Regions from separate parts of the Homo sapiens genome. Here all the other regions are linked to region 1. The links are contacts of gene promoters, found by promoter capture Hi-C in human tissues and cell types (Jung and others, 2019). All regions are on one chromosome and are shown on one strand. Each heading gives the region's core, a stretch centred on a gene start or on the middle of the fragment in contact. The rest is flanking DNA. Distances are from core to core; before and after follow the strand shown.

Region 1 (2,629 bases), core at 78-2,577:
AGTCTTATCCTTTCTGAAGACTTCCTAGGGTGTCTGGGTTTGCAACAGTTACAGAGGACCACAGAACCACTTTCACTTTTTTTTTCTTTTTTTTTGAGACGGAGTCTCGCTCTGTCGCCCACGATAGAGTGCAGTGGCGCGATCTCGGCTCACTGCACCCTCTGCCTCCAGGGTTCAAGCGATTCTTCTGCCTCAGCCTCCCGAGTAGAGTAGCTGGGACTACAGGAGCATGCCACCACGCCCAGCTAATTTTTGTATTTTTAGTAGAGACAGGGTTTCACCATATTGGCCAGGCTTGTCTCGAACTCCTGACCTCGTGATCTGCCTGCCTCGGTCTCCCAAAGTGCAGGGATTACAGGCGTGAGCCACCAGCCCGGACCACTTCCACTTTTAATAAGAGTGTCTGCCTGTCTAGTCCCCTTGTGTTTCACAAGGGCAGGAACTGAGTCGCATTCACCTCATTCTTCCTCCAGGGCTCAGCTCAGGGTTTGGCACATAATAGTAGGCATTCGACACGTTTTTTTGTGAAATAAACGAAATAGCGATGAGTTGTGGAAACGCTTGAGTAGAAGCAGCCCAAATAAATATAGTGATAAATGCCAACAATTTTTATTTTTTAAATTATTTTAAAAATAATAATAGAAACGGGGTCTCGATATGTTGCCCTGGCTGTTCTGGAACTCCTGACCTCAAGTGATCCTCCTGCCTCGCCCTCCCAAAGTGCTGGGATTACAGGCGTGAGCCCCACTTCGCCTAGCCCGCCAAAAATTTTTAGATGCAATTCTTCTTTCCTCGAGGCTCACTTTGTCCAAGTCTGCCACTCTACACGGGCTCCCCAAGCCAATTTCCCCTGGGCGCCCGCCCCGTCCTCCGGTCACTGCAGCACCGTCTCAGAGCTCACCGTCCAAGTCCTCGTCTGGAGCCGCCGCCACCCGGTGCTGCACTTCCCCCTGTACCAGAGGGTCGAATAATTCCGTTACCATGTCCTTCATCTGGGCCACGCCAGACAACAGGCCCTGGAAAGGGTCGCCGTCACCCGGCGCCTCACAGGACACCCGCAGCTTCTGCGGCTTCCCTTCCTGCCCGACGTACTCTCCCAGCAGCTCCATGGTGACCGCTAAGCTTCCAGAACACGACACCGGGAAGCGCCACCCGGAGGCGGAAATCAGCCCGCGTCCGGCGCAGGCGGGAGAAGGGAGAGGAGTGACATCCGTTTGTCGGAAGTCGCTCCTCCCCCTTCCTTCGCTTTTTTTCCTTGTCATTGGTTCCTGGCACTCGGGCCCCACCTCCTCCGGCTACGCCCCTCACGGCCGCTTTTCCCGCCTCCGCCGGGGCCGAGCCGCTGTTCGGCTGACAGTTGAGGATGGCCGGAGCCGAGGGCGCCGCTGGGCGGCAGTCGGAGCTGGAGCCCGTGGTATCGTTGGTCGACGTCCTTGAGGAGGACGAGGAGCTGGAGAATGAGGCGTGCGCTGTCCTGGGCGGCAGCGACTCCGAGAAGTGCTCCTACTCTCAGGTGGGCGCGCGGCCCGGGCCTCCTCTCCCCCGGCTCCCGCCGAACCTCCCCTTCCCGGCCCGGCTGTCCCTATTCCCGCCTTGCCGCAGTCGTCTCCCCAGTGGTGGTCCGGGGCCGCCGTTAGTCTGCCGCTTCCTCACCCCAAGCTCACCCTTCCCTTTTAACCCCAACCTCCTGGGCCCCCTTCAGCCTGTGTCCAGCAGGGGCCCCCCTCTCCCCTGTCTCCAACTCTGTCCGGCCCGCCAGGAAGGGCCCTGGAGCAGCTGCTCTGTCCGTCCTCTCCAGCCTCTTCTTGGTGCACCACTGCTTTTCACGAAACCACCCCGCGACCTCTCAGATCCAGACATCTTTGTCCCTGATTTTCCCATCCTAAGATTATTTATTTATTTATTTATTAGGGACCGAATGGGAGAGTCAGGTTAAAGAGATTTTCAAATCCATAGGGATTTGCGGTGAGCTCCTTGACAGCTAGTTCCTCTGCAATTTAGTTGGACAAGTGCTAGCTAGTACTTTTTCTTTCTTTCTTTTTTTGGCAAAATGAAGCAAGTACCCATGTCTATCTGCAGTCTGCCCCCCTCCCCTGGAAATAGACCGGAAACAGAACAGCAAGTGGCTCTGGCAAGGGAGGGGAGAGAGGAGAAAAGGATCTGTTTGGCATTTGGAAGACGTTGTGAGTGAGCAAGTGTTTGAGGGGGTGTGATGTGGTGTTTAGTGACTCACCCTACACTTCGAGGTACAAAAATGGAAAAGGATGGGTAGGAAGAAGACTGACAAAGGATGAGAATTGGTAGGAAGAAGGGTTACCTAGGAAGAGGGGTGGATTGGAACACTGGGGAGATGAGGGGAGAGACTTGTATTCATTATGTGGTATGAACTGAGATCATAATACCAGTTCTCGTTGTTGACCAAGGTTAGTTTACACTGCAAAGTGCTAGATTGTTGAATAAACCTGGTATCCAGACATAGCCCCAGGTATTTTAAAACCTTTGGTCACCACTAAAACAATTTTTCCCCTGCTTTACTTAAAAAAAAAAAAAAGAAAAAAGTTATGTCTATATGTAAACTATTTTTGAAGTGTAGTTACCTTTATAAAATGGATTCCTTAATATTTTCTTT
Region 2 (2,629 bases), core at 38-2,537, 680 kb after region 1:
AAATGCTGGCCTGGATGCAGAACAATTGATACCCTTTCACAATATTGATAGTAATGTAAATTAATGCAATTCTTTTTTTTTTTTTTTTTTTTTTTTTTTTTTTTTTTTGTAGAGACGTGGCCTTGCTATGTTGCCCAGGCTGGTCTTGAACTCCTGGTTTCAAGTGATCCTTTTGCCTTGGCCTCCCAAAGTGCTGGGTTTACAGGCATCAGCCATCACACCCTGATGCTCAAAAACATCATACGAAGCTTTTGAAAAGCTATTTGGCAAAAACATATTTAAAACAGGGGTTGGCAAATGTTTTCTGAAAAGGGCCAGATAAGTAAATATGTTCAGCTTATTGAACCATATTGCCTGTGTGCAATATGTACTCAACCTGCTATTGTGGCAAGAAACAGCCATAGGCAATGTGTAAGTGAATGAGTGTAGCTATGTTCCAAGAAAGCTTTACTTATAAAGATTTATTTATTGCCCCAAAAGCCATGATTTGCCAACTCCTGGTTTTAACCATTAAATTATTATGAAAATGATGATTATATATAAAAAAAGTACCTACATGAAAGCACACTTAGAATATAAAGTTAAGTGAATAGTAGGTACCCAATTGTATAAAATCACAACCATGAAAATCCCTAGGCACAGACACATATGAAAGAAAGAAAACATGTCTCTCTCTCTCTTTTTTTTTTTTTTTTTTTTTTTTTTGAGACAGAGTTTTGCTCCTGTTGCCCAGGCTGGAGTACAATGGTGCGATCTTGGCTCACCACAACTTCCGCCTCCTGGGTTCAAGTGATTCTCCTACAAATGTATCGCAAAGAACTCCCGCACCGTTCCCTGAAGGAGACAAAGTTTCTCCAGAGGCCAGCTCATTCCAGAGGTACGGATGGCTGGTTCTTCTCTCCACTTAATTTTAAAAAATATATGTTCTTTCTTATGAAAAAAAGAATCCGTTTCTAGAGAATTCTACGAATGGTGAGTCACACTCTGGAGTGCCACTTCCATGAATGCCGAGTGATCAGTGGAGGTGGCTCACACGCCAGGGCTCACTGGAGCCACCCTCACTCCTGACACATTCCCTCATTTCCTGCTTCTTCCATTCATGTCTGTCTTTGTCTCACTTAATTTTTGCCCCAAATCTTATCATCTTACAGAACTGAAGCTCTTTGAAATTCAGCTTCTATGAAGACTCTGCAAGCCCCAAAGTGTTTAACCAAGACCTTTACCTGGGAAAGAGAATCCGGACTCAGCCCTCTGCAGGCTGTTGAAGCTCAAGCCACCACCATGCCAACTTCCACAATGATTCCACCAACACAAGTCAAGCACTGCCACCACCATGAGAAACACAATCCAGCAACTGTAACAAAACCCACAACAGCCAACACATCCCCCACAGCTGCAAATACAACCCTAACCCTACAACCACAGCAGTGATCACAACTCCAGTGATTATCACAACAAACCCAATAACCACACCAACTCCAACAACCACAGCTACAGCTCCCAAAATAACCACAGACCACAGCAACCTGACGCAATTTTAACAACAGCCACAATCATAACCACAACAGCTCCAATAACCACTGCAACAACCACAGTAGCAGGCATTTGTTGATCACCTCTTATAAGCCAGGTCCTCCACCAAGTGCTTGTCATATATTATCTCACATAGCCTTCCAGCTGCCCCAGGAAGTAGACAGATATACATGCATGCTTTATTTATTTTTATTTTTATTTTTAAAAGATAGACTTCTATTTTTCAGAAAAGTTTTAGATTTACAGAAAATTGAGGAGACAGTAGATAGAGTTCCTATAGGCCCCCTCCCTCCCACTCTCAGTTTTCCCTATTATTAACATCTTGCATTAGTGGGGTACATTTGCTAAGATTGATGAAACCATCTCGATGCATTATTATTAACTAAAATCCATAGTTTATGCGAGGGTACAGATTCCGGGGGCTTTGATGAATGCTTAATGGCATGTATCTGCATCAGAGTGGCATACAGAATAGTTCCATTGCCCTGAAATTCCTGCTTTCCACCTATTCATCCTTCCTCCCTTCTGTCACCCCCAAACTCCTGACAACCACTAGCCTTGACAATATTTTTATAGTTTTGTCATATAGTTGGAATCACACAGTATGTAGCCTTTTCACACTGGCTTATTCACAATGTAATATGCATTTAAGATCCCTCCATGTCTTTTCTTGGCTTGACAGCTCATTTTTTTTATTGCTGAATAATATTCCCTTGTACAGATGTACCACAGTTTATTCATTCACCTTTTGAAGTCTATCTTGATTGCCTCTAGTTTTGGGAAATTATGAATAAAGCTGCTATAAACATTTATGTGCAGGGTTTTGCATGGACATTTTTTTACCTTATTTGGGTAATTACCTAGGAATACAATTGCTGGATCATGTGTTTCAGCTAAACATAAACAAAGACGATGTTTAGTTTTGCAAGAGAGACAACAAATGAAACTGTCTTCCAACGTGACTGTACCATTTTGCATTTCCACCAGAAATGAATGAGAGTTCCTGTTGCTCTGTTTTCTTGACAGTGTTTGGTTATGTCAATGTTCCAGATTTTGGCCATTCTAATAGTAGTGTCATTTCCTTGTTGTTTTAATT
Region 3 (2,629 bases), core at 76-2,575, 570 kb after region 1:
GGCCCTGCTGATGTGGATAAGTCCCTGTGTGACTCTGTATCCCTCAGGATGCCCAACGCAGGGTTGGACCTAGAACAGGTGCCTGGCAAATGCTCGCCAGGTGAATGAGAGGCCCTTGTGAGTGGCAAGAATGCAAAGGACATCAGATGAGCAAATGGGACAAGGACTGGCACATGCCTTGAGCCAGTGAATCCAGAGAGATGGCAGGAAGGGACACTCCAGTGAACACCTTCTGCAAATGACAGTCCACTGGACTGTGAACTCCATGAGGGCAGGAGCTGTCTGCTGCTCACTGCTGGTTCCCGGGCCCTGGCACCATGCCCCACATTTGGAGCTCAGTGTGCACCTGTTGAGTGAGAGCTGAGGCTCCACAGCATTGAAGCCCTGTGCCCTCTGGGAGACATGAATTCCTTCAGGGTTATATAGCAGGCACTTGTTTTTTTTGTTTGTTTTGTTGTTTTTTGCTGTTGTTGTTGTTTTTGAGGCAGAGTTACGCTCTTATTGCCCAGGCTGGAGTGCAATGGTGCAATCTTGGCTCACTGCAACCTCCGCCTCCGTATTTTATGATTGGCAGAAGTTGTGGATGTGGCCGTAGCTCTGACATTTATTGGGCACTACTTGTGTGCAGGGTTCTGGGCTGAGCTCAAGGAGGACCAAGAGAATGAATAAATCACATTCTCCACCACTGGTCTAATCCACCTTCCATGCCGGAGGCACTCCATGGCTATGATAGACATTCCCTGCCCTCCTGGCCTGGTAGCCATGTTCTTATTTTTGGGTTTTAGCCCTTCTATTCGGATTTTCCTTTGGGAAACCACCTCTCCCTGAGCCTCTATCCACACATCCCAACTCCAGGGGTGGTCACATGGCCCGGGCCTGACCAACCAGCATACTCTATCCCATAAGCCACCATGATTGGTCCACAGGTGGGCACATGACCCAAGCTAGTCCAGCAAAAGTCAGCCTCAGGACTTCCCTCGGACTACTGGGAAACAGAAGGTCTCTTCCTAGGGATATTACTGCCTGTAAGAATGATGGAATGCTGGAGCCTGGAGCTACAGGAACTGAGCCAGCCTGAGAGAAAAGGCAACCCAGGAGAAATCAGGAGAGAGCGACAGAGCCAGAGACAGAAATCCAATACCGTCATCATTTGAGACCATGGATTCAGCAGATCTGCTGCCTGGATATCCTGATACGTGAGCCCACAAGCTAACATCTTTCTCCCTAGTTTTTGTATTGCTTAAACCACTTCAAGATGTGTTTTTGCTACTTGAAACAGAAAAAGTCCTGCCATACAGAGCTCTCCTCTCTTACTCTCCTCTCCCAAGAAGCACCTTCAGTCCCAAAACTCAACATGAGTTCTCTCTGTACTCAACCAAGCACTCTCCTCTAGCCTCCTCCCATCTCCGTAGCCCCCAGCCTGGTTTCAGGCCCTCTTGGATGGTCTGGGGTCTGAATGATCTCAAGAGACCCCCACCTGACTCCAGTCTGCCAGCTCAACCCCAATCCACTCCAATCCAACCCACACTGTCAAAACAGTTGATCTTTCTGAAACAGACAATATAGGCTCATGTCACTTCCCCACTTAACACCTTCGTAGGCTCATCACTGCCCAGAGCAGTTTCCTAAAGCACTGGGTCCATGTCCCTGCAGTTATGAGAGCTGATTTTAGATGGTATATGGACCCAGCACTCAAACACATTGAAACCTGTAATAAGAAACTTAAGCTCCTTTTGATTCACTTACAAACTTTCCAATTACTTTATAGAGAAGGTCTCAGCACTGTGCCACTATGGCTTTCACATCTCTCTACCGCTTACTTCTCTCCCTTTTTAACAAATAGAGAGAAAGTCTCAAGCTCAGAATCTTCCAGAGAAAGCTGGAATTTTAAAAGCTTGGTTTGCTTCCACTGCATTTATTATTATGGTCACCTTCCATTTATGCAAGTGGAACTAGTTTCTCATTTAGAGTAGTTTTGTAAAGTTAAGGAGATTAATTTGTATACACACAAAATGAGTTTATTTAAAGAAAAAAATAAGGCAAATAAGAGATGGTACTTGGATATGCGTGAATGTAGATCATTGTTTGGTAAACAATGACCCATAGGATGAAATGCGATCTGCTCAGCCAGGCACACGAGGCCCTTCTAGGTCCTCCTCCTTGGCCACCCTTTCAAGCCACTGAAGGGCTTGTGACTCTCAAGAGGAGTCTCACAGAGCCATACCTCCAAGCCTTTGTCCATGCGCTTCCTTCTGCCTGGATGCCCTTTTCCCCCAACCTGATTAGCAACCTGGAACAATCCCATTCATTCTTTTTTTTTGAGACGGAGTCTCACTCTGTGGCCCAGGCTGGAGTGCAGTGGCGCAATCTTGGTTCACTGCAACCTCCGCCTCCCGGGTTCAAGCAATTCTCCTGCCTCAGCCTCCGGAGCAGCTGGGATTACAGGCGCCTGCCACCAACGCCTGGCTAATTTTTATATTTTTAGTAGAGACGGGGTTTCACCATGTTGGCCAGGCTGGTCTCGAACTCCTGACCTCATGATCCACCCACCTCAGCCTCCCAAAGTGCTGGGATTACAGGCATGAGCCACTGTGCCCGACCAATCCCATTTATTCTTAAAGACCCCTGT

The links. Contacts are between HindIII fragments. The study calls those that stand out against the background at their distance.
Region 2: a fragment that was not itself captured here is called in contact with the fragment with the promoter of UBR7 in region 1 in 2 of the 25 tissues and cell types used here (pancreas and stomach).
Region 3: a contact is called between a fragment that was not itself captured here and the fragment with the promoter of UBR7 in region 1, in 1 of the 25 tissues and cell types used here (hippocampus).

What each region holds. Positions count from the first base shown.
Region 1 is chr14:93,205,929-93,208,557 of GRCh38, forward strand. It overlaps UBR7 (ubiquitin protein ligase E3 component n-recognin 7), which reads left to right and starts at 1,328. Exons shown (of 11, transcript NM_175748.4): 1 at 1,328-1,513. The coding sequence starts at 1,364. It overlaps GON7 (GON7 subunit of KEOPS complex), which reads right to left and starts at 1,137. Exons shown (of 2, transcript NM_032490.5): 1 at 902-1,137. The coding sequence starts at 1,109. RefSeq lists an enhancer at 374-1,233. The HindIII fragment of the contact is 21,573 bases long and covers 1-2,629 here.
Region 2 is chr14:93,883,644-93,886,272 of GRCh38, forward strand. It overlaps LOC105370631 (a long non-coding RNA gene), which reads left to right. Exons shown (of 3, transcript XR_944162.3): 2 at 713-877; 3 at 1,152-1,761. Among named protein-coding and RNA genes, the nearest start is that of FAM181A-AS1, 41 kb to the right of the region's middle. The HindIII fragment of the contact is 5,900 bases long and covers 1-2,629 here.
Region 3 is chr14:93,775,035-93,777,663 of GRCh38, forward strand. All of the region lies in intron 3 of PRIMA1 (proline rich membrane anchor 1), which reads right to left. Among named protein-coding and RNA genes, the nearest start is that of PRIMA1, 12 kb to the right of the region's middle. The HindIII fragment of the contact is 7,093 bases long and covers 1-2,629 here.